Linked DNA regions of Homo sapiens: all the other regions are linked to region 3. The links are contacts of gene promoters, found by promoter capture Hi-C in blood cells and fetal thymus (Javierre and others, 2016). All regions are on one chromosome and are shown on one strand. Each heading gives the region's core, a stretch centred on a gene start or on the middle of the fragment in contact. The rest is flanking DNA. Distances are from core to core; before and after follow the strand shown. Region 1 overlaps MUC19 (mucin 19, oligomeric (gene/pseudogene)). Region 2 overlaps SLC2A13 (solute carrier family 2 member 13). Region 3 holds the start of SLC2A13 (solute carrier family 2 member 13). Region 4 overlaps REDIC1 (regulator of DNA class I crossover intermediates 1). Region 5 overlaps REDIC1 (regulator of DNA class I crossover intermediates 1). Region 6 overlaps SLC2A13 (solute carrier family 2 member 13). Region 7 overlaps SLC2A13 (solute carrier family 2 member 13).

Evidence for each region. The method cuts DNA at HindIII sites, captures the fragments that hold promoters and counts their contacts. A CHiCAGO score of 5 or more calls a contact.
Region 1: a contact is called between a fragment that was not itself captured here and the fragment with the promoter of SLC2A13 in region 3, in 1 of 17 cell types (neutrophils). The highest score is 5.3, in neutrophils.
Region 2: a contact is called between a fragment that was not itself captured here and the fragment with the promoter of SLC2A13 in region 3, in 1 of 17 cell types (M2 macrophages). The highest score is 7.6, in M2 macrophages.
Region 4: a fragment that was not itself captured here is called in contact with the fragment with the promoter of SLC2A13 in region 3 in 5 of 17 cell types (naive CD4 T cells, non-activated CD4 T cells, naive CD8 T cells and 2 more); the score reaches 9.6 in naive CD4 T cells.
Region 5: a fragment that was not itself captured here is called in contact with the fragment with the promoter of SLC2A13 in region 3 in 3 of 17 cell types (non-activated CD4 T cells, total CD8 T cells and naive CD4 T cells); the score reaches 8.3 in non-activated CD4 T cells.
Region 6: a contact is called between a fragment that was not itself captured here and the fragment with the promoter of SLC2A13 in region 3, in 10 of 17 cell types (M2 macrophages, M1 macrophages, erythroblasts and 7 more). The highest score is 9.0, in M2 macrophages.
Region 7: a contact is called between a fragment that was not itself captured here and the fragment with the promoter of SLC2A13 in region 3, in 1 of 17 cell types (M2 macrophages). The highest score is 5.1, in M2 macrophages.

The regions. Positions count from the first base shown.
Region 1 is chr12:40,464,982-40,468,164 of GRCh38, reverse strand. MUC19 (mucin 19, oligomeric (gene/pseudogene)) reads right to left here. Exons shown (of 172, transcript NM_173600.2): 49 at 2,952-3,026; 50 at 2,576-2,710; 51 at 2,127-2,192. Among named protein-coding and RNA genes, the nearest start is that of MUC19, 73 kb to the right of the region's middle. The HindIII fragment of the contact is 3,597 bases long and covers 1-3,183 here.
Region 2 is chr12:39,752,702-39,756,215 of GRCh38, reverse strand. It overlaps SLC2A13 (solute carrier family 2 member 13), which reads left to right. Exons shown (of 10, transcript NM_052885.4): 10 at 1-1,191. It also overlaps a transcript of REDIC1 not described here. Among named protein-coding and RNA genes, the nearest start is that of REDIC1, 130 kb to the right of the region's middle. The HindIII fragment of the contact is 9,809 bases long and covers 1-3,514 here.
Region 3 is chr12:40,104,295-40,107,761 of GRCh38, reverse strand. SLC2A13 (solute carrier family 2 member 13) reads left to right here and starts at 1,681. Exons shown (of 10, transcript NM_052885.4): 1 at 1,681-2,509. The coding sequence starts at 1,954. RefSeq lists silencers at 17-146, 1,528-1,777, 1,798-2,057, 2,078-2,147, 2,158-2,247 and an enhancer at 358-527. The HindIII fragment of the contact is 3,714 bases long and covers 438-3,467 here.
Region 4 is chr12:39,642,977-39,646,321 of GRCh38, reverse strand. It overlaps REDIC1 (regulator of DNA class I crossover intermediates 1), which reads right to left. Exons shown (of 13, transcript NM_001031748.4): 3 at 2,405-2,543. Among named protein-coding and RNA genes, the nearest start is that of REDIC1, 18 kb to the right of the region's middle. The HindIII fragment of the contact is 879 bases long and covers 999-1,877 here.
Region 5 is chr12:39,673,755-39,677,211 of GRCh38, reverse strand. The region is part of intron 7 of REDIC1 (regulator of DNA class I crossover intermediates 1); the gene reads right to left. Among named protein-coding and RNA genes, the nearest start is that of REDIC1, 49 kb to the right of the region's middle. RefSeq lists a silencer at 1,281-1,471. The HindIII fragment of the contact is 2,013 bases long and covers 357-2,369 here.
Region 6 is chr12:39,772,056-39,775,497 of GRCh38, reverse strand. All of the region lies in intron 7 of SLC2A13 (solute carrier family 2 member 13), which reads left to right. It also overlaps a transcript of REDIC1 not described here. Among named protein-coding and RNA genes, the nearest start is that of REDIC1, 150 kb to the right of the region's middle. The HindIII fragment of the contact is 1,112 bases long and covers 1,574-2,685 here.
Region 7 is chr12:39,810,967-39,814,165 of GRCh38, reverse strand. The region is part of intron 7 of SLC2A13 (solute carrier family 2 member 13); the gene reads left to right. It also overlaps a transcript of REDIC1 not described here. Among named protein-coding and RNA genes, the nearest start is that of REDIC1, 190 kb to the right of the region's middle. The HindIII fragment of the contact is 2,326 bases long and covers 450-2,775 here.

The sequences.
Region 1 (3,183 bases), core at 182-2,681, 360 kb before region 3:
GCTCTATCCTCTAATATCCTTGCTGTATTTTCAGTTTTATTTATTCTCAATGGAACACCTTGCTATTTGGTCTTTTGAGATAATTTTTCTTTTTCTTCAATTTTCTCCTGGGTTTTCACCAATTCCAATTTAACATTCCTGCTGTTTATCTATTTCCAGTCTTAATTTTTAATCTGTAATTTTGATGTATCTTTGTAGCTGCGGTTGTTTCCTTAGTTATTTTACGTTAATGTTATGTTTTTGTATTCTTTTGCTTCATGACTAGATCTTTAGAATTTGCTTGCTATTGATGCAAAGTTTTTGAAAATGTATATAAAGGAATAGCTGTGTATCGATACTGGAATTTCTTTATTATTATTATTATTATTATTATTATTATTGTTTTGTGGGCCAGTAATAGCGGGAGATTCTACGCAGGGGGCAGCAGGGAGGCTTCAGTATACTTCCCAGATTTCTCAGATAAAGGGCTCCCCTCTTACGTTCTTACAGTGAGGGAGCTTCGTTTATAAGTGGCACGTTTTCCTTGTCTGTCTTCTGATGCTTTCATCACTATCTTGTTTTATTGAGACCCTTATTTTTCCATACCTATTTTTTTCCTTTGGCACCCAGGCTCCAAGGGTTGCTCCCCTGTCCAAAGACTTCCATGCATTCTCCAGTACTCTTCCAACTCCATTCATGAGGGCTCTCTGACCTGCCAGGTCCCAGATTTTCTCTCAGCATTTTCCACTCAAGTTGTGGGGCTTTCCTTTTGAGGCTCAACTCTAGTTGATTGAACCACTAGAATCATGGTATTCTACCACTATTAGGACCTCTCTATACTTCTCTATTTTCTGTGATGCCCTTACCTATATTTCAGCCCTATGGTGAGCCTCAGAGCCATCGTTCCCAGTTTTTGGAGTCTGGCTCTTCTCTGTCTCCTCTACACACCGTAGGTGTGGGCTCTGTTTTGATCTTTATGATTTGAAGAAAGAGGTATCTATAGACTCTAATTTATGCAGCCACTATTTTCCTGGTTTTTTTTTTTTTAATTTTTCCATTGGTTTCTTGAGCTTAAATCCTATTCGATTCTACTAGTGTCAGTGCAAATTAAGGATCAGGTTGATACTATGACTAATTAAATTACATTCTGCTTGTGATAAAAGGATTTTTAGTGTGTTTGAATATTTAACCAGGTCATCAGATATTTACAACAGAGATATAATATGTAAGAAATTAGGTTAAGGAAGGTTCTTCACAGATTCAGCTTACTCACTTGCTTCATTTCCAGAGACGAATTTAGGGTGAACTATGTGTAATAAATGGTGCTTTCAAGTCCTTCTACTTGAAGACTATAATCATTTATATTGAGAACATGTGTGTAGTAGGTCATACCTGCTTGGCTATATAATATAAAAGAGTGAAATATCTCTCTGACTTTGCAGTCTCTTAACAGACTGCCTCTGATGTGCATCATATTCTGTTTTAATGCTTATTCAATAATAAACCTATATTTTATTCTGTACTACCTTTGTGCAGGGGGTTCTGGATTCGAAGAACATTTTGTTTTTAATCCTCCTTCCCCAAAACCTGAATAACTACTTTTTATTCCCTTGCAGTTGGATAGATTCTTAAAATTTCACTCAGCTTCCTTGTATTTTGAGTTTTTGTTCAAGTTGAGGCATACAGACACAGCTTGTAGTGCACTGATTATAATACATTCTTTTCAAAATAGAATAATTCTGTTGTTTTAATCAAATTAATCAGTCACTTTACTAGAATTGCCTCTCAAGTCTTACTCCAATGCGTGTCATTGAACAATTCCTCCACTTTGATTATCTTTTGCCTTGCATGGTTTTGCTTTTGTGTGTATTATAAATATTAATTTCTTTTGCTCAGAAATGAAGTTCTATGAGAACAAATACCTTACTCAACTCCTCTTTTATGTTGTCTGTATCCCCCAGGATAATACTGAACACACAACAAATATTTCTTGATTTATTTCTGATCTTCTGCAGTTTTGACATTACACAAATAATAATAATTAAATTCCCCAGGAAAACTTGTCTCCGACAAAATTTTAATTTTGTAATTTAAAAAAAATTACACTTCTACTGTCTAGATTTATTCTGATTATGCTCTTTCCATACCCAATGCTCCAGAAGTGTTTTCACCAGCAGCTCCAGTGGTGGCTACATTTCCCCATTCAGTTGTTCCTAATTGAAAAGAGCAACAGTGCTCAGTCTGCATCAGAGTTTTCAAAATCATGAAATAAAAATACAGGGCACCCAGTTAAATATGAATCCAAGACAAACAATAAACACTGTGTTTTGATTATTGCATGGGACATACTCATTCTAAAAGAACTGTTCCTGATTTGTGTGAAATTCAAATTAACTGGTTTCCTATATTTTCTCTGGCAAGCCTAGTCTACATAAAAGGTTACAATGAAGTAACTCTTTGAACAAATTTCAGGGTTTCTTTAAAGAGGTAGGTGGTCTACTTAAACTATCCATGATCATTTGTTGTAAAATTACATCCCTTCTAAATTCACTTAAACTTATAAGAATCTGAAGTTCCAACTAGGTTTCTGACTCACCACCACTAAAGTGACCAGGTGAGCCCGGGCTTGGCCTGGTGAGTTTCCCAGGTGGACTGGAACCAGTGAAAGATGTTTTAGCTGTGATTTCACTGTCAGATCCAGCAGTAGATCCAAGAGACTGTCCTGTTACACCTGACAAACACAGTATTGGGAGTGCATATACATTATTGTGACAACCCAGTGCCATAGTAGTTTTGAAGGAAATATTTAGAGAAAGCATAAATTAAAACTTTTCTTGAAAAATGTTAATAAGTTATATACCATTCTATCTTTTGTTGGATGGCATTTATACTTAGTGAAATTTGCAGAGGTCTGATGAAATATTGTCCTTTTCACCAAAAGCCACAGCCTCGGAATGACATCCTCTACTCACCTGACATGCCTTCAGATGATGTCGCTTCACTGCTTGTGGCTCCAGTTTTTCCACCCACTGAGGGTCCAGTAGTTCCTTTCAAAATAGACAATAAATATGTATCATGATCTTTGATTTAGCAGAACATAGGGTGCTACTCTCTGCTTTCAAAATACCTTTTGTTTACACTTCTTCATTTCCAGAAATGGCTCATTCTTTCCAAAAATTGATCATAAGAATCGTATATGATTGT
Region 2 (3,514 bases), core at 356-2,855, 350 kb after region 3:
ATATGTAGCTGCTGCCAATAAGAAGGCTCAGAATTGTTCTGTGGATTAATTTTTACATCCTGTTTTCTGTCACTTTTACCAATCTTCTTGGCCTCATGTACAATAATGTAAAGCCAATTTGATGAAATGGTTCAGGTTGTAGCAGTCTATAAATTGTCGGTACATTCAGCTCTTCTAGGTGAGCAATACTGCTGCTATTTTTCTAGAAATAGCAATCATTTAAAAATGCCAAATAGCTAACTGCTACCAACTCTTTCTTGTATCTTGTCTCTTTAGAGAAGGAAATTTTTGTGTGCCAGTAATCATCAAAGAGGTGTTTTATAAGAGTGTTGATGTTCAGAAGTTCATGAAAGTATTTTATCCGTATAATTTGCTAGTGAGCTAAAACAATATAATTTATGTAAATCTTTATATGTACAAAATATATAGTCTGTTGTACTTGAGTAATTTGGTCTATGGAATTTTAAATGCCTTCATTTAGCAGTAATATTCACATTTTTATTTTAGACAGTTAAGTTCATGTGTTTGATTTTGTCATGTCAGCATAAATGAGAAAAAGAAGTGGATCATGCAGCTAATGAGTAACCAACATTTTGTAAAGTTTTAAAGTTTTAGCAAACAACATTATTCCATCTCATTTAAAGGTTAAAAAAGAAGAGACAACTCTAGCCAAAGTAGAAATTTATATTCTACACGTCCAAACTGTCTCCTAGCAGCTTTTGGACTATATATCACTTGATGTTAAAGTATCTTTTATTTGTAATAAATATTCAAATTTCTATTTAGAAGCTCTAATGTATACCTAGATTAAATCAAATCACAGTTTTATGCTTTTAAAATATATGTATTTCAAACTGTATATTTTAATTTCTGAGTGCATGTTATATAGTATTTAATACTTCAGATGTCTTGGCAAATTCAATATAAGTATTTATTCCCACAAGCGATATATGGGATATCTCTTAAAAATTATGAATATGTACCATTTCCTTCAAAGTCATCCTAGCCTATGCTGTATCAAAAGTATTGTATATTTTATGGAGATTTAGTGATATACATGTAAATGTTTTTTAAGTTATTTTATTGAAGTTCAATCTTTACATAAAATTAAAATCTTTTTTTAAAAAAAGTGTCAGTGCCAGAACTGTAAATGAAAATAATCAAATAAAAGTTAAAATAATTCATTACTCATTAACTTCCCTTGCACTTATTTATTTTTTCTAGTTATCTTCCTTGGATGTAGGTTAGATGATAGTTAAAGCATCTAGAAAGACAATCTACCTCTATATATTAATGCAGTCCTACTCATTTTAATGATATTTTATTTCTTTTGATTATGGATATGATAAATCATCTTTTAAAAATATTTTATAATACCTAAAAATTGTTCTAAAGAATTATTCTAAATACTGAATATAAAACTGTGAAATGTGGTGCTTAGGAACCCTTGAAGTAATAATTATAGTTATTGTCAGAACCAGATGTTGACATGAACCATTAAGTTGAGTTGTCAAAAATTATCTTTGGTGGTGGTTCTGTAAGTGAAAATGAACAATCGTGCTGGAAGGCCAGTTGACAGTTCTTTTTGGGACTCCGTTGCTCTCCCTTGCCATTCTGCCTCAATCATAGCTATAATTAGCAAATATACACTTGTTTGATATTGGCAGTTGCTAGACACGTGTCCATAATTAGTTGTGTGTCTTCCTGAGCCTGACTTAGAAATAGCCCAAGGAGATCTTCTGAAGACTCTAGACCTACTGTCATTCAAAGGCTTACAGTTGAGTTACATCTAACTAAGGTTCTTAACGTCAGCAGGTAAGGCAAAAATCCAAGTCAAATGACCCTTGAAAATCCCACGAATTACACATAAATTGTCCACTCACCTGAATAACGGACACCTGAATAGTGCAGAACATGTCAGTATCAGTGGGCAGAAAAATCCTCATTTAATTGTCCAATCCTGTGGAATAAACATTGTCATCCTTTTCCAGGTACTAAAACTTAAGTTCAAAACATTTTTGTCACTTGCCCAAGATCACACTAGAAAGTCATAGAAAACTCTTCTTTGCAGTGACTACACCAAAAGTCTTCCCCTCTATGTCCTCCTTTGGAACATCTTTTCAGACCCAGGCAGATAGATTAAAAACAGAAAGAAATTGTGGAATCCTTGCATTGTAAAAGAGTGCATATGGATTACAGGAACAAATCCTGAAAAATCTTCATTTAGAGACTCTTGTCAAATGTGAGGCAATATAATGCATTGTCTAAGAGGTCAGACTGAATTCAAATCATTTAGATTTGAATCCCAGCTTTTCAACTTACTGCCTAGTAACCTAAATTACTGAACCACTCATTGCCTCACTTTCATTGTCTATAAAATGAGATGCTACTACCGTCTACCTCACTTGTGTGTAGTGAAGGTTATCAATGAATCATGGAAAGCAAGTAGAGCAGTAGCATATAGTAAGGACTGGATAACTGTTAGCTTTTGTTTTCATCATCCATATCCTATCCCTGATGCTACTAAGGTCACAATGTTCAAAGCACAGGCAATTTGCTTATAAAATCCTTTCCTGAGAACAACTACTAGGAACAGGAGCACATTGGCTTCTTTGACATATGTCCTCCCAGCTCAGCTGACCAGAATGATTTGAGCTGATCTGGCTGACTAGCCTGATGTCCTTCTTCCTTTCTCCATCTCTTTTCCATATGTGTCCTCCTGAATGGCAGTTGATGAAAAGAACAACCTTCCCATATTCTCCAGATTAACAGGATTTAATACACAATTTCTGTGATCTCACAGTCAAGAAATAAAAATAAGTTTAGAAAATCAGTAATCTCTCATTTAAAGTCTTTTCAATGTTTTAAAAAGTAATTTTTGAAACCTGATTCAAACAAAAACCGTGACATTAACCCTCTCTAATTGGCTGTATTGAAATTAAGCTCATCTTACTATAGATGCTTTGAATGCAGTATAAAACATTGAGGCTACTTCTTTTAACCTTTAATGTTTTGTGTACTTTTCCACTGCACCTCCAAAAACTAATTTCAGATCATCAGCATGCAGTCTAGTCTTTAACAAAAAAGAAAATTTTGTTATGCTTTACTTTTAGCAAATAGATACTAAACTCACAAAACATACGTTAGAGCAGCAGTTCTCCAAGCATGGTCCTCAGACTAGTAGCATTGGCATCACCTGAGTGTGTTACAAATGCAAATCTGCGGGCCTCGCCACCTGCTGAATCAGATTCTCTGAGGATACAGCTCAGGAAGCCATTTTCAACAACTCTGCAGGTGATTTTTCAGCACACAATAGTTTAGAAACCACTGCATAGAAGTTGGGAGTCATGACTTTAAAAAGGAATCTGACATGTTCTTTTAAATGGTGAGCTCATCTAGTGAATAATAAAATGATTGACTGGATTTACATGCAAGTTACTCAGGGATTTGTAAAACTGTCTTATTTCCACCTCAGGGAACTTGCACACGATGTTGTCTCTGCCTGGTATGCTTG
Region 3 (3,467 bases), core at 432-2,931:
GGAGCCCTTCTCTTCAGAAGCCGTGGGAATTGGCTCACCACCAGGGGGCGCAGTTTTACTATACCGTAGCATGCCGCGGAAAAGGCGCGCTCTCACCTGCAATATTGTCCGAGGTCTGAATATTAAAGAGTTCATTGCTGCAGATCTAAAGGCTCTCTCTGTTTAACTGATGCCTGGGAATGACGGTAGAGCCTTGCTTTAAAGCCAGACGATAACATTTAAATAGTTAAGCCGTCTGGCTTCATTAGTTTATTTTTCCTTGTTGCTGGCAAGGAAAGTACTATATTGTAGAGATAATCGTGACTGATAATCAAAACGAAAGCAGTTTTGACAAATTCTAATATAAGTTTTTACTGAAACAGGAATGACAAAATCCTTTTGTCTGAAAGGAAAAAAGTTATAGCTGCATGAAAAATAGGCCCCAGGCTAAGAAAGCTTTTGCTCAAATAAGGGAAATAAAAGAGCAGTGGAATTGTAGGAATAGAATCATATGATGCTTGACTTTTTGCCCTCAGCCTGAAGAATGAAAGCAAATTAGAGGCACAAAACATCTTTAGCAGTCCCAGCTGCTAGGAAGGCTGAGGCAGGAGAATCGCTTGAACCTGGGAGGCGGAGGCTGCAGTGTGCCGAGATAGCGCCACTGCACTCCAGCCTGGGCGACAGAGCGAGAATCTGTCTCAAAAACAAAACAAAACAAAACAAACTATCTTTAGCCCCTGATGCGCAACTGTATATTTTAAAAACATTTAAATTAAAGGGGGAAACAAACCCCAAATGAACCAACAACTGTTAATTCACTCAACAGTTTAAAAAATTGGTTGCAAATAACGTTATCTTTGCTTTGTTTCAAGTAAATGAGGCTGTTAAAACAGTGCCTCATGGAGGGCAACAGTGGGGATTCTCAGGAGAGAAGCTATCCTACCTTTTGGTTAGCATGTTGGGGCGGGGAAATGGAGACTGCCTGCCGAATCACAAATCAGGGTCTTGAGTTTTCTTTCTATTTCTGGGAATTACCCGTTACATGAGTGGAATGCATATATGTGAATTTTCTTTTACAGGTCGGGGATCCATGGAAGGAGGGTTTGGGATTCACCACAGAGATATGTTCTCTGTCCTCAAAGAATCAAATGTACCATTCCTTTAAAATAAGCATAAATTGAGGAGGGACTGGCGATGAGAGTGGAAACTAGCTATAGAAATGGGAGCATGCAGCCCTGAATTGCTCCAGAACAAACACATTTAATGCCAGGGAAGTAGACCACGCTGGGTAATGTCACAATACTATAAAAGGAAGGGTACTTGCTAGGTCCTATTCTAGGATATTTTTTCCAGCCCTCTCTCTAGGCTGCTGGAAGGACAGTGAGGCTGGTTTAGGTGCTCTCTCCCTCCTCTCCAAACACGGCAAACATTCTGGGTGGCTTCCCGTCTGGAAGCCTGTTGCCTGATGGCATCGCCACATTGGCTTGCTCCACCGCTGCAGCTCGGAAGGCAGGGTTAATTCCATACGGTTGCCAGAGCCCTAAATGAGGGAGCCTAGGTCAGAGGTCGCACCCACCGGGAGGGCGGGGTTTAGGGGTCCGGGGCGGGCTGAGCCTGGCCCCGCCCAAGGAGGGGGCGGGACGTTTCCCGGGCCCCGCCCCGCCGGCCCGGGGTTGCACGTGACCCGCGGTCCCGCCTCCCGCCCGCTCCGCAGCGCCAGCTCGGCAGGCGCGGGGCGTGAGTGTGGAGTGAGACCCGCCGGGCTCCAACTCCGCAGCGTCGGAGCGCGGCGGGCAGCAACTTTCTCCCCGGAGCGGCCGTGGCGGCGGCTGCTGCCGTGGCAGCCGGAGCGGAAGCCGGGAGGAAGAAAGCGGCGGCAGCGGCGGTTGCTCCCGCCGGCTCGGGCTGTCTAGCTCGCCGAGACTGCCGGCCCGCGGAGCCGCGTCCCCCCGGGCAGCCCCGGGCCCCTGCCCTATGTCCCGCAAGGCAAGCGAGAATGTGGAGTACACGCTGCGGAGCCTGAGCAGCCTGATGGGCGAGCGGCGCAGGAAGCAGCCGGAGCCGGACGCGGCGAGCGCGGCCGGGGAGTGCAGCCTCCTGGCTGCCGCCGAATCGAGCACCAGCCTGCAGAGCGCGGGCGCGGGCGGCGGCGGCGTCGGGGACCTGGAGCGCGCGGCGCGGCGGCAGTTCCAGCAGGACGAGACCCCCGCCTTCGTGTACGTGGTGGCCGTCTTCTCCGCGCTGGGCGGCTTCCTGTTTGGCTATGACACCGGGGTGGTGTCAGGGGCCATGCTGCTGCTCAAGCGGCAGCTCAGTCTGGACGCGCTGTGGCAGGAGCTGCTGGTGTCCAGCACGGTGGGGGCGGCTGCCGTCTCGGCGCTGGCCGGAGGCGCCCTCAACGGCGTCTTCGGCCGCCGCGCTGCCATCCTCCTGGCCAGTGCCCTCTTCACCGCCGGCTCCGCGGTGCTGGCTGCGGCCAACAACAAGGAGACACTGCTCGCCGGCCGCCTGGTCGTGGGACTCGGCATCGGTGAGTTCGGGCTCCGTGAAGGGCGCCCGGGATCCCATTGTCACCGCCCTTGACCCTGGGTGTTGCGTGCCTCTTGCCCATCGGGGTCCCCGTCTGGTCTCCCAGGGTCAGAGAATCCTCCACTTCTCTGGCCTCCAGAGCCCATCTGTTTGTTGGTCCAGCCTCCAAGGCTCTCCCGGGAGGTGGGAGGGTCGGGGGGGAGGGGGTGTCACTCTAGTCTCCCTCGAGCGCACGTGGAATCTTTGATAGGCCACGGACCAGTCAGTCCAAGTGGTTGTTGCCTCTCAGCACTTCCAGAAACCTAGCTGAGCACCAGCTCTTTCCTTGATCCAGCCTAACCTGATGCTGCTTCTTGAGCTTACGAGGGTCTCTGCTTTCCTGCACTGTCCCACCTTGCCTCTCCACTGCTAGCCCCTTTCGTTTTCTGGGGCTCCCAGCCTGGAACCTAGACCATCGTCAAGTTACAGTGAGATAATATTTAGAGTTAAGTAATTCTGGACTCTGAAAGGTTTATTAGCGACCCCTGCCCTCTTTGCTTATCTAGCATTTGTCTTTAGATGGCATCTCCTTTTGCTTTTATGCTTTTTCTATTGCCTTTCAGCTTTCATTCTTTTCCCAAGTAAATTCCATTCTCCTCTGTTTTTCCAACTTTTTCATTTGAATCCTTTTTTATCCATTCTCCTCTTTGTTTTTCCTCTCCTGCTTTCCAGTTGGGAACCAAATTATCTATTAAAGGTCATATTCACTTCCTTAATTCATTTAGGAGCTACTCCCCCTGTGGATAAATGCCCCGCAAGATAAATGTTTGGAATTTACTTCAAAAATGAAGGCATTAAGGTTCTCCTGGCGTTGAATTTTTTTCACCCTGGTTGCTGAGCAGGGGAGGTACAATTGGCAAGTTTTTGGCAGAGGGAAGCTATTTGGAATGTGCTCTGTATTATTAGAAAGCACTTTTGAG
Region 4 (3,345 bases), core at 189-2,688, 460 kb after region 3:
AAAAAATATATAATTATAATTTTAAAATAAGAATAAAAAATTGTAAAAGTACTGTTTAATAAATCATGTTCATTACATAAACATATATCTAAGAAATTTTACTAAAACATTTACATTCTATCAGTGCTAAAATAAATCATTACAATATAAACAACTATCAGAGACTTTAAAACATATTCATCATCTTATATATTCCTCATTATAGCTGCCCTATTAATTTAGTTCTACTTTTTCTTCCACCAAGATTTCTATGATCTCCAGACTAGATTAGTTACTATGTTATATATTCCCACAGTACTATATATATTTTCCCTTTCTCTGGTCAGTACTTTCACCTACTCTATTTTTGTGATACACCCACCCAAACTATATACATAGTTATAGTGTAGATTTTATATCTTCTTATAAAACTCTGCCTCAAGCCAGGCATAGTGGCTCATGCCTGTAATCCCAGTTACTAAGGAGGCTGCAGTTGGAGGATGGCTTGAGGCCAAGAGTTCAAGACCAGCTTGGGCAACACAGTGAAACCCTGTCTTTAAAAACAAAACAAAATAAAAGTCTTGTCTCTCTGGATAAAATAATTGATTTGGCAGTAGCCATCTGACTAAAGGTGAACCAATAATCGTATCCCATTCTGCTAGTTATAAGCAAAATTTTTTCACTGTGAGATTGGTACCAGTAGCACAAGGAAATATTCTTACAGTGGAATTTTAAAATGTGGGACCAGAGAAACAACTCTCAGTATTTCCTTGGTGGCAAAACTAGAGAAGGTGAGTAATATTAGTTTCTTAAGGCCATGTTTTGAGCCTCAATGATGAAGACAGTCTGAGAGAATAAAGTTAATGACTGAAGTGAAAAAGAATCTTGATAGTATTCAAGTCCCTGTTTCAAGTCATCTCTGAGGCCCACTGCACCATCACTCTTCCTGTTAAAGGAGTAAAAAGATAACTGTTTTGAATTTCTGTCATTTGCAGCCATGAGTCCTGATTAGTAAAGCTTGCTTTCTGTTTTATCCTCAGCACCCAGTAGAGTACTTACAGTGGGTACCCAATAAAAATATGCTGAAGAAATAAATGAAAAGAAAGTGCAGGAGTTCAGGCCATTATCCCAAAATAAGTCATCTTGCTATTTAAGAAAACAGCAGAAGCAGGAAGGTTACTCTCAGCTTTCCCCTGAAGCAGGTCATAAAACCCTCATTCGAGAAGTGCTCTGGTTATACTTGGAAGAAAATAATATCCCTATCTCTGAAGACGCAGGGTCACAAAGAAGAATCTGAACAAAGAGGCCTTGCTAAGATCCCCTTAGTTTATTACTATTAGATCATTCTTTTAAAAATCCAATCATACTTCTTGAGGACCATCCACTTTTTCATCAAACCTGGCAAGAAAAATACACAAGTTTAGCCATTTCTTCCAATCTTAAGATCTTAAATTTCTTATCAAGGCTCTTGTGTCACATAAAACTTACTAAATAAATCTGTATGTTTTTCTCCTGTTAATCTGTCTTTTGTTATTGAGGGTTTAGCCATAAACCTAGCAATGGATGAGGAAATATATTTTTATTCCCCTACGACTGGGAATAAAGGTAAATACATCAAAAAGATTTACAACAATAAGTTTTATTCTCAAAATCCATGAACAATGTATTTATTCTTTCTAAAGTATAACTAAATTTACTTGTGTAAACTGTTATCTGTGGAGGGAGAAAAAAAATGACGGAGAAAGGAAATGAGGAAATATTAACAATACTCTGATCAATTTCTATCCCTTCCTGATAAATTGTCTTATTTTTATGCTCTCATTTTTAGCAGTTGTTTTAAAAATTAAATATCAGACACAAGTTCCTCTAAAAGAGGAAAAATATACTCTAATTAAGCTTTTTATTTACTTGAAGTATCAAAATATATGACAAAATGGACTTTATTTTGCAGTATTAGACTTCTATGATTAACATCCCAGGAAAGTGTAATAAATAATTCAAGTGATGACATAGGAAACTAGTCATTGAAGCAAAAATCTTTGCAGATCTTCCTTTCAGACATACCCTTTAAATAGTAAAGAATAGTTAATTTGTTGATATGTATTAACATTTATTCCCTGCTCTCTAGCTAAACTTTGGTAACTACCTGCCTGTATAGAATAATGTAACAACTGTACTATAATAAGTTTAGTGACACCTAATAAATTAATTTTATATAACACATACACAAAATAAAAATAAAAATTGGATTAAGCAACAAAACGTTTTAAGCAGATATTAACTAGGCATCTAATTTAAGAGAGCAACCAAATTTTAAAATTAATTTTCCACATGCTTTGAGCTCAAAAATTACAAACTAATTAGAAGACTAAACATTATTATGATCACATCAAGTTCAAAACAGAATGCAATTGGAATGACTTACCAGGAATTTTCTTCTTGCAAGATATCTGATTTACCATATATAGGTTAAGAATGTCTAAGCTGACAGCAGAATTTTTGACAGGAGATAAAACTCCCAGTGATTTCATTTTTGATTTTAACCTGTGTTTTTCAAAATATTCCTAAAATAATTAAAAATTAAAAACAATGCAGCAAATATGCGGTTTTAGACAGAATTATAAATAATAAAAAAGCAATCATGTTATTAAGTCATTGACTTGATACTTTTATATTTTGTGACATCTTTATATGTTTATAAATACATTACAATTAATCATAACTTGCAGTTTGCCTAAAGACTAAATTTCACAGCCTTTTATCATCTTCCTTAAGCATAACCTTTAAAACAGAATGCTATAAAGCTATTCTCTGAAATCAAAAGATTAGAAATTATCTCTATATAGAAAGTTAAAAAAATCTGGTAACAGAACAATTCTGACAGGCTAAAATCTTGTTCTTGTTTTTCTACAAAGTATGCTATTCTGCAGACATAGAAAACCTTAAAAATATGCACAGCTGAGTGCCATTAAAAGTCAACAGAAATGAAGAAAAAAAAAGCTATGTGCAAATTAATCTGCAACCAAAGCCAATTTCGTTTATTTGTTATCCCTCCATGATTCCCAGATGTTTGTTTTTTTAACAAGACTTGCACATAATTATCACTTTATCCAGTTTTTATTTTCTTTCTGTTTGAACTGTTATTATTCTTTCTTATTGCCATTCTTTTTCTTTCAGGTTACATCATTAATTCATTTAAATAAAAATTAACTAATATTTATTTATCAAGCAACTATTATGTGCTAGGTTGTGAAAACATCTTCTCTTCCATTAAATAACTCATAATATAATGCTATGAATGTAAATATAAATGCGAAATTGTCAGAAATGAGAAAAAGCCAAGATGGCAAAATATTTAGTGCAAGA
Region 5 (3,457 bases), core at 114-2,613, 430 kb after region 3:
ATGTGTTACATAAGTCTCTTGAAGACAATGGATACTTGGTGGATGGATTTTTATTCATTCTGACACTAAATGCTAAAGTGAAGCATTTAGGCCATTTATATTCAATGTTAGTATTGACATGTGAAGTACTTTTCTATTCATCATGTTAGTTGTTGCCTGGATATCTTGGTGTTTTTTTTTTTTTCATTGTGTTATTGTTTTACAAGCCCTGTGAGATTTCTGCTTTAAGGAGGTTCTATTTTGGTGTATTTCAAAATTTAGAACTCCTTTTAGCATTTCTTGTAGTGCTGGCTTGGTAGTGGTGAATTCTCTCAGCATGTTTGTCTGAAAAATACTTTATCTCACATTATGAAGCTTAGTTTCAATGGATAGAAAATCCTTGGCTTATATTATTTTGTTTAAGGAGGCTAAAGATAGGATCCCAATTCCTTCTGGCTTGTAGGGTTTCTGCTGAGAAATCTCTTGTTAATCTTACAGGTTTTCCTTTGTAGGTTACCTGATGCTTTTGCCTCACAGTTCTTAAAATTCTTTCCTTTGTCTTGACTTTAGATAACTTGATAACTATTTACCTAGGTGATCATCTTTTTGTGATGAATTTCCTGGGTGTTCTTTGAGCTTCTTGTATTTGAATATCTAGATCTCTAGTAAGACTAGGGAAGTTATCCTCGATTATTACCTCAAATAAGTTTTCCAAACTTTTAGATTTCTCTTCTTACTCAGGAACACTGATTATTCTTATGTTTGGTTGTTTAACATAATCCCAAATTTCTTGAAGGCTTTGTTCATTTATTTTTTATTAATTAGTTTTTCTTTGTCTTTGCTGGATTGGGTTAATTCAAAAGCCTTGTCTTCAAACTCAAGTTCTTTCTTCTACTTGTTCGATTCTATTGTTGAAACTTTCCAGTGTATTTTGTATTTCTCTAAGTGCATCTTTCACTTACAGAAGTTTTGATTGTCTTTTCTTTATGACATCTATTTCTCTGAAGACCTTTTCATCCATATCTGGTTTTTTTTTTTTATTTCCTTAAGTTGGTGTTCTCCCTTTTCTAGTACCTCCTTGAGTAGTATATTAATCAACCTTCTGAATTCTTTATCTGGCAATTCAGAGATTTCTTCTTGGTTTGGATCCATTGCTGGAGAACTAGTGTGGTCTTTTGGGGGTGTTACGGAAACTTGTTTTGTCATAGTACCAGAATTACTTTTCTGGTTCCTTCTCATTTGGATGGACTGTCTCAGTGGAAAGGATCTGGAACACAGGGGCTGCTGTTCAGATTCTTTTGTCCCACAGGGTGATCCTTTGATGTGGTGCTCTCCCTGTTCCCCTATGGGTGGGGCTGCACATGAGCCAGACTGCAGTGATTGGGTCTAGCCCCCCAGTGAGGCTATCAGGCTCCAGGTTGGTGCTGGGTAATGTCTACAAAGAGTCCTGTGATGTGATGAGGTGATCCATCTTCAGGTCTCCCAGCTGTGGATACCAGCACCTGCTCCAATGGAGGTGGCAGGGGAGTGATGTGGACTCTGTGGGAGTCCTTGGTTGTAGTTTTTAATGCACTGGTTTTCTCAAATGCTGCTTATGCTAGCAGTGAAGTTGTCACATGAACAGACTCAGGACCTCTGGATAGCCAGGATGTTGCACGTGGTAGAATTAGCTGTTGTTTTCTCCTTCTTTGGAGCAGGCTTGTTCTGAGTTGCTATAATGGACTGAGTTGGCTGGCCTCCAGCCCAGAGGTGGCACTTTCAAGAGAGCACCACCTGTGGTAGTAGAAGGGGTATGCAAGTTTGCCCTACATTGGCCAGGATAAATTTTCAGGTTTCTCAAGCAATAGGTGGGGCCATAGAGTTCCCAAGAGTTTATGTCTTTTGTCTTTGGCTACCAAAGTGGGAAAAAAAAAATCAGGTAAGGGCAGAGTTAGAAAGGTCTGTGCTCAGACCCTCCTTGGGCAGTGCTTGCTGCAGCCACTGTGGGGGATGGGGGTGGTTCTCAGGCCAATGAAGTTATGTTCCACAGAGGATTATGGCTACCTCTGCTGCATCATACAGTTCATCACTGAGAGAAAGCCTCCGGTGATAGGCTTCTCTCAGCTCCCACACAGCAAGTAAAGCCTGTCTCACTCTCATCATGCCCACCAACAGTGCCAAGTTTACATCCAGGCAATGGGCACACAGTGCTGAGATCTTGCCCCAGGCTATGAGCCTCCCCACTAAGAAAGCAAGCAGGGCTCCCAGGCCTTGCCCCTCCCTGTCTACCCACACTGTTGGCTGCAGCTTCTGCACTCATATCTGCATTTCCCATTCGCACCCCACCGCCAAGATTCTGCTCATGAAAATTCATGCTTAGTCAAAATTATTACAGAGTTCAGTCAGAAGCTTCTTTCACCCTGTGGCCCCTCCTCAATTCCACTGGGTACCTTCCCCAAGGACCCCTGTGAGAGAAGGCCAGGGATGGCTTCCCTGGGCTCAAGCTGGGGACCAGGAGTGTCTACAGGGCTCTTCCAGCTGCTTCTTCCACTTTTATATTTTGCTTAGCTCCCTACTTCCATTTCAGCTCTAGGGATGGTTAAATCCTTCTCCCATGATCTGGATTTCTGGTTCCCCAGTGGAGATGTGTGTTTGGAAGCAGGCTATCCCCCCCTCACACTTTGGGAACTGAATTTTTTGGCTGTCTCATGGAGTTTGCAGAGCAAGCCACATCTTTCAAAGGGTCTTTGAATTCTTTTGGTTTTCCTGGTATGTTTCTGCAGTGCTTTTTGGAGTAAAAGTTCATGATGTGAGTCTCTACCTGCTGTTCTGTCCAAGTGGGAGCTGCATACTAGTCCTGTCTCTTACCTGCCATTTTCCAAAATCATGATTTTTAAAAGGTATTTTAAGCATCTGACTCAGTGGAATCACTCTCTAAGAGATGTGGACAATACAGAAATGTAGAGTAGTTATTGCCAACAAGAAATTTACAGTATAAAAGAGGAAGAAAAAAATTACAAAGTGACAGGTATTATCCTACAGTCAAATGCTAAAACAGCAAACAGAAGAAAGAAGAGATTCTTCTGCTTGAGAAAAATTAAGGCAGATGGCATCTGATTTGGGAACTAAAGTTGGAAAGGATTCTTACTTCTAGAGATGACAGAGAGCAATTATCCTAAAAAACTGAAAAGAATTAAGACAAGTAAGTCCAACTTGTTAAACAATTTATGTTTTCCTATAGATAAATATAAAATTCATTAAAAATTATGGACTAAAATTTTAATAAAAACATTCATTATCTAAATAAGCCTTTTATGTGTATTCAACAAATATTTAATGTGTCCACTATGTAGTAGGGAGACAACAGAGGTTATAGTCTAGTGAAGGATGATAATAGACAAATAAAAGACAATGAACCACTAACAAATACAGTGGATAAGAAATAGAGAAGTAAATAAATATAAAAGATAATTACAAATACTACCAGATCACATGATGG
Region 6 (3,442 bases), core at 880-3,379, 330 kb after region 3:
TCCCCAAGGCAGAGTTCAGGGCTCCTCTGAGCCCGTAGCCTGTTAACTTCACAATGACCAGAGAACTTCAGGAATACAGGAGGAACTGGAGAGGCAGAAGTAGGCCACATCCACATCCTCATGTCCTGGATTTTGCATACACCTATTGCCTTGCTTGTTGGCCAGTTTGGTGCCAAAATGAAAGTAACTTACGTTACCTAAGACTTCATTTTCACCAGTCTTCTATCCAGACCAACCTTTGTGGCCCAATTTACTTTAAAATGATTATTTTAATGGCTGCTTTTTTATTCAGTTGTACCTTAATTGCATTAACTACCCTTCCATTGTGGGAGACTTTTATGGTTTCTAATTCTCTATCTATGTTAATCTTGTGATAAATGAAAGCACAGAGAAAAGTACATCTTGAAGCATATAATTTCCCATTTAAGTGGTTTCCTAAGGATACACTTTAGATATCAGACTGAGACAGAGGGGATGAATATTCTAATGTTCAAATTGCCAAATTTCTTTCCAAAAGGAAATTATATCAATTTAAATTGTTACCAGAATTAGAGACTGTACCACTATTGCTATAGTCTCATCACCTTTAAATGTTATCATTGTTTTAATTTGCATCTGTCCATACTCCATCCATCTATTTTGCATACTTGGGGTATATAAGGTAGTCAATATACCGATAAGGAGTTTAGATGCAATGATTTATAGATAAATAATATTTTATTCAGGAAAAAAGTGGCTTTTTGCTCCAAATTTCTAAGGCTTTTGAAATTTACCCATATCTATGATTTAATTGTCTCAATAAAGACTTTTTTATTAGAAAATAATAGTAATTAACAAAAGAATAGGTTTTTCATCTTGTCTGTAAATGACAATCTTCTGCAGGAAAATTACAAAACCAAAAAAAAAAAAAAAAGGCTGGACAATGGGAAATCATTCAAGGGCAGGATTTTCAACATGGTCTCCACACTGCAAGCTAGGAAACCATACTTTTCTAAAATTATTCAAAATCACAGAGATGTTATTAGAGTTTAAATGCTATGTGGCCACCCTTGACATAAGTTTATTTCATTTTAGATTATTAAATAGGAAATATGCCTACTGAACAATAATTAAAAGTATCTGAGAAGTAATGGGCCAAGTTTGTAACAGTAACTTTTCATGGTTGCTTTGAAGGGATGCCCGGAAGTTAGAATTTCTTATAACTTGGGTTGCTTAGAGTAAATTTACACCATCCTAAATCTCTGGTTGGGAATTAGGATTTTGCTTCTTTAGTTCTCCTCAGATAAGAGTGAAGGTGTCCTATCCTGGAGAGATACTCTGTGCTTTCCTAGGTACGTTTTCACCACTACCCTCAAATTGTAATGGTGTAATTATATCATAAATTTCTATCAATAAAGAACTATTAGGGTTAACTTTCTATCAACAAAGAACTATTAGGGTTAACTTTTAGAGGGATATCTATGTTTTGAGGTGATAGCTTAGGGACCTTGTCCAGAAAAATCACAGTCCTGCGTCAGGAACTGGAAATAAAATCGTGCTTCACTGACACTCCTCAGTAATGAATTAGCAAGCTTGTGCAGTAAGCCCAGTAGAACGATGGTAGATGTGTCACACGAACTGTAGTAAGCTCTCCCCTTTTCTAAAATTCTGGATCTTTTATAAACTCTTTGGGAAGGGAACTAAGTTTCATACATTTATCAGTGATTAGGACTCAATATATGAAGTTGGAAGTTTTGGTTTTTATACACAGGTCATATTTCTTTTCCTCTACTCCCATATATAAGCCTGGAGCAGTCAAATTATTTCATCATGGAGAATAAAGGGGCAATATAGACAGCATGTGCTGTGTAGGAAGCAAGGAATATACTACTTATGGCTAACTAGCAAGAACAGTTGTATATTTGCACTGCTTAAGTTCCTTTGGTTATTTCTTAGGTTTGAAACTCTAAAGATAAATGATGGAGAGGTAACATTTTAAAAGGCAGAAATAGATCTACGTATGAACTAGGTTTGGTGGGTGTTGAGTGGGCAGGGGAGCATTGTTCCACCTTCAAAGGGAGCTGTTAATTTCTACATGTTATTACTAAAGGGAGTTCTGTGTATTCCATGATTGGAACAGGGAACCGATTATTTATTTGGTCTGTATATCAGGTTTTAGCCTAGTCATTCTGCTGGTAAGGATTAGTTCTCTCACTCAGCCAAAATGAGACATATTTCACCTGATTGCATGCAATTCTGCTGCTTTGTCCACTGCAGTGCCCTCTGAGCAGCTTCCCATTATTGCAGTCATTTTCAGGTTTTGCTCTAGGATGTGGTGAAAAGGTGCCACATCCAAGAGCATGACTTTTTCTAATCCCAGCCCACACACTGATGTCAAAGTATTTTTGTTCCTTTTCGGGAGCATTATGTTCTTCTACCAGCAGTTGCCAGGAAAGCATGAGGATATTTTGCAATAATGTTTGAAATCTGCATTTTTATTTTTTAGTTGGTATTTCTAGTGTTTATATTTTGAAGGTCAGGTGTGATGTCACATTCTCAGTCATTAGCTATCTACGTATTGCTGAGTATGTAACTCTGCCAAGTTAGTGCCTGCAGTGCCTTCCCAAAATCAGCATGAGGATGATGAGGAGCTACTTGGCCTTTTTTTTGCACATGTAAACGTGCATAGCCAGATGGCAAAAAGCTTCATCAGGGCAAGCACAGAGTCCACTCTAAAGTATCCTACTTCATTGCCACAGCAGGAGATCACCCTAGGAACTGTGATAATAACGAAAAGAGTAAATAGAAAATTGTTCAGTGAATCTTAGTTATTTCATTATTTGTAAGTATTCCTCCTTACAGGAGCCTGCCTACCTGCCTGCCTTTCTTTTTTCTTTCTTCTTCTCTTTTTTCTTTCCTTTCCTATTTTCTTAAATCTTCATGACTCAAAAGACTATTTCATTGCTGGGGATTATTGGTCAAGGGACATCTAATGCTGTTTTCTACTCACAATTAAACAAATGCAAATGTAAAAGCTTCATCATTCAAGGAACATTTATCTCTACATAGGGTATTATGATGGACAATAGGTTGAGATTTAAAAAAAAAATAGCACGGTGATTATTCTTTTGGCAAGCCCTTATAAATTGCTTTCTATGTGCCAAGCAGTTATCACCTTGTTTAATCTTTGTAACAACCCTATATGGACTCTTATTTTACAAGAAAATTGAGACACAGAGAGGTTAAGTAACTTGGCCAAAGTTACAAAGCTGGTAAGGGAGAGAACTGAGATACAAACTCATGCAGTCTGACATTAGACCCTGTGCTCTTGACCCTTGTGCCATGCTGTACTCCCTGGGATGAAATCTCAGTACCGTAGAAGAAGGAGTATATTAATATATGACCATACAGAGCACTATATGATAATGACATAAATGAGGAAAGTGAAAAGGAGTTGAGAGGA
Region 7 (3,199 bases), core at 363-2,862, 290 kb after region 3:
AAGTATTATCCCCAGACCTCACATTTTAAATTAATTTAATTCTTAATTATCACAAAGAAAGAAAAGAGTATGGGCAAAAGTGAAGAGAATATTCAGAGCAGTTTTCCTCGTCTTGAAAGATATGATTATAGTTTTACAGAATTTGGCAATACAATATAGATGAAGTAATATACGAAATCACTCATACTGGAAATTGTCCAAGATTGAAACTTTCGAAATGTGGAGTTATCCAAGATGTGACTGTGTAGGCTTCAGACAGTTTCCAGGAATGACATTCTTCAGCGTAAAATGGAAACTCCAATTTTAAAATGCCTGTGTAGGGGTTCTGTTCAGTTAATATTCCCAATTACATCTTTTTAATTGCTATTTTAAATTTTAAATCAAATGGAACTCACATTGAGATTGTAGATGGTAGTGGCTGCAGCCGTGTTTCAAGTCTCCCTGAAGCTTCTTCATCCCCCACTACTCCAATAAAAACAGACAGTTGGCAAGGAATGGGCCTTATTTGAATCTTGATTCAAATGAACTGAAAAAAGTCACTTAAAGACAACCAGGAAAGTGTGAACAGTGATTGGCTGTTTGATGTTCTTAAGAAATTATTGTTAATTTTTCAGGTGCAGTAATCATATTGTTATATATTTTTTAAGTCCTTGCAGAGATACATACTGAAATAGTAACAGATGAAATATGGTATCTGAAATTTGCTTCAGAGTAACCCAGGAGAGGTGGATTAAGTGACAATTTAGATGAAATGTCATTGGCCATGTGTTTACAGTTGTTGAAAGTTTGTTATGGGTACATCCGGTTAATTATACTATACTCTCTACTTTTGAATATATTTGAAAATATTTGTAATAAAATAAAATTTTGATGTATGTCAAAATAAATGCTGACCTAGATCAAAGACAAAAGTATTTTTAAGATAGCTAAGAAACAAACAGAATAGATAAAATGGAATGCAAAAAATATCTAATTAATCCAATAAAAGAAGTTTTAAAGGGAGGGCAAAAGTAATACTATAGGCTGGGCACAGTGGGTCACGCCTGTAATCCCAGCACATTGGGAGGCCGAGGTAGGTGGATCACTTGAGGCCAGGAGTTTGAGACCAGCGTGGCCAACATGGTGAAACCCCATCTCTACTAAAAAAAAAAAAAAAAAAAAAAAAAAAATTAGCTGGGCATGATGTCAGGCGCCTGTAATCCCTGCTACTTGGGAGGCTGAGGCAGGAGAATCACTTGAACCCAGGAGGCAGAGGTTGCAGGGAGATCACACCATTACACTCCAGCCTGGGTGACAGAGTGAGACTCTATCTCAAAAAAAAAAAAAAAAAGGTAATACTACAAACTAAATGTTTGTCCCCCCACCCCCTAAAGTCATATGTTGAAATTAGAAACCGCCAGGTGCAATGACTCACGCCCGTAATCCCAGCAGTTTGGGAGGCTGAGGCAGGTGGATCACTTGAGGCCAGGATTCGAGACCAGCATGGCCAACATGGTGAAACCTCATCTCTACTAAAAATATACAAATCAGCCGGGCGTAGCCGTGGGCGCCTGTAGTCCTAGCTACTCAGGAGGCTGAGGCAGGAGAATCGCTTGAATCTCAGAGGCGGAGGTTGCAGTGAGCTGAGATTGCACCACTGCACTCCAGCCTGAGCAACAGAGCAAGCATCTATCTCACAAAAAGAGAGAAGGGGAGAAAGAAAGGAGAAAGAAAGAAAGAGAAGAAAGAAAAGGAAGGAAGGCAGGAAGGAAGGAAGGAAGGAAGAAAGAGAGAGAGAAAGAAAGAAAAGAAAAGAAAAGAAAAGAAAAGAAAAGAAAAGAAAAGAAAAAAGAAATTAGTCCCAATGTGAGGATATTTAGAGGTGGGGCCTTTGGGAGGTGATTAGGTCATGAGGGTGGAGTCATCATAAATGGGATAAGTGCCTTTATAAAGGGGCCCCAGATAGATTCCCTCTTCCATTCTACCATGTGAGGGCACAGATGAAAGATGGCTATGAACCAGGGAGCAGACCCTCACCAGACACCAAATCTTCTTGTGCCTAGATCTTGGACTTCCCAGCCTCCAAAACCCTGAGAAATAAATTTCTTTGTGTAAGAGCCATCCAGTCTGTGGTATTCTGTTATAGCAGCTTAAACAGACTAAGACAAGTAACAAAGTTGTTTCTTTTATGAGATAACCATAAAAGAAACAAATTAGAGATTTAAACCAACTCTATTGGTAAACTATGTTAAAATAAATTGTTTAGAAACTCCAATAAAAGACAGAAACTCCAGTAAAAGACAGAGTTGTCCAATTAGACATGAAAACAAATGCAACTGTCTGCTGTCTAGAAAAATGGGGATGGAAACAGACATACTGTACTAACACTAATCATATAAAGCTAGAGTGCTTTTGTTAATATTTGACAAAGACTCCAGATTAAGGAATATTATCAGAGATTAAGAAGGATGGCTTATAATAAAGTGGCCAATTCATCAAGACATACAATTCTTAAATGTATATTCCTCTAATAATAGAGCTTCTTAGAAATCAGTAAAAAAAATTTTCACAAAAATTACTAAATATTTGAATATTAAACAATACATTTCTAAATAACCCATGCTGTAAAAAAGGACATCACAAGGTAATTAGAAAATGTTTTGAAGTCAATGAAAATGAAATTATAACATATCAAGAACGTCAGGGGACAGCTAAAGCAATACTTAACAGCAAACTTATACTTTAAAATAAGTATATTAGAAAATTTTGAAAGGTTTAAAATCAATTACCTAAGCTTACAATTATGAAGCTAAAAAATGAAGAGCAAGTAAAACCCAAAGTAATTAGAAGGAAAGATATAATGGTAGTAGGAAACAATAAAATAGAAAATGTAAAAGCAATAGATGAAGTAAATGAAATCAAAAGGTAATTTCTTGAAGAGATCAATAAAAAGCAGATTAAGTCATAGCTGGACTCGTTTAGGGAGAAAAGGAGACCCAACTTTCTATTATTATAATTAAAAGAGAGCACTTCTAATAAATGGAGAAAATTCCTGGTGACACATATTTCCAAAAGAAATAGGAAAACTAAATCATCTATTTAAAAAATCAAATTTGTATTAAAAATCTCCCCACAAAGAAAACTGCATTGGTGAATTAAACCAGATATTTAAAGAAGAAATAATGCCAATCCTATATAAACTCTTTCAGAAAAGGGCAGA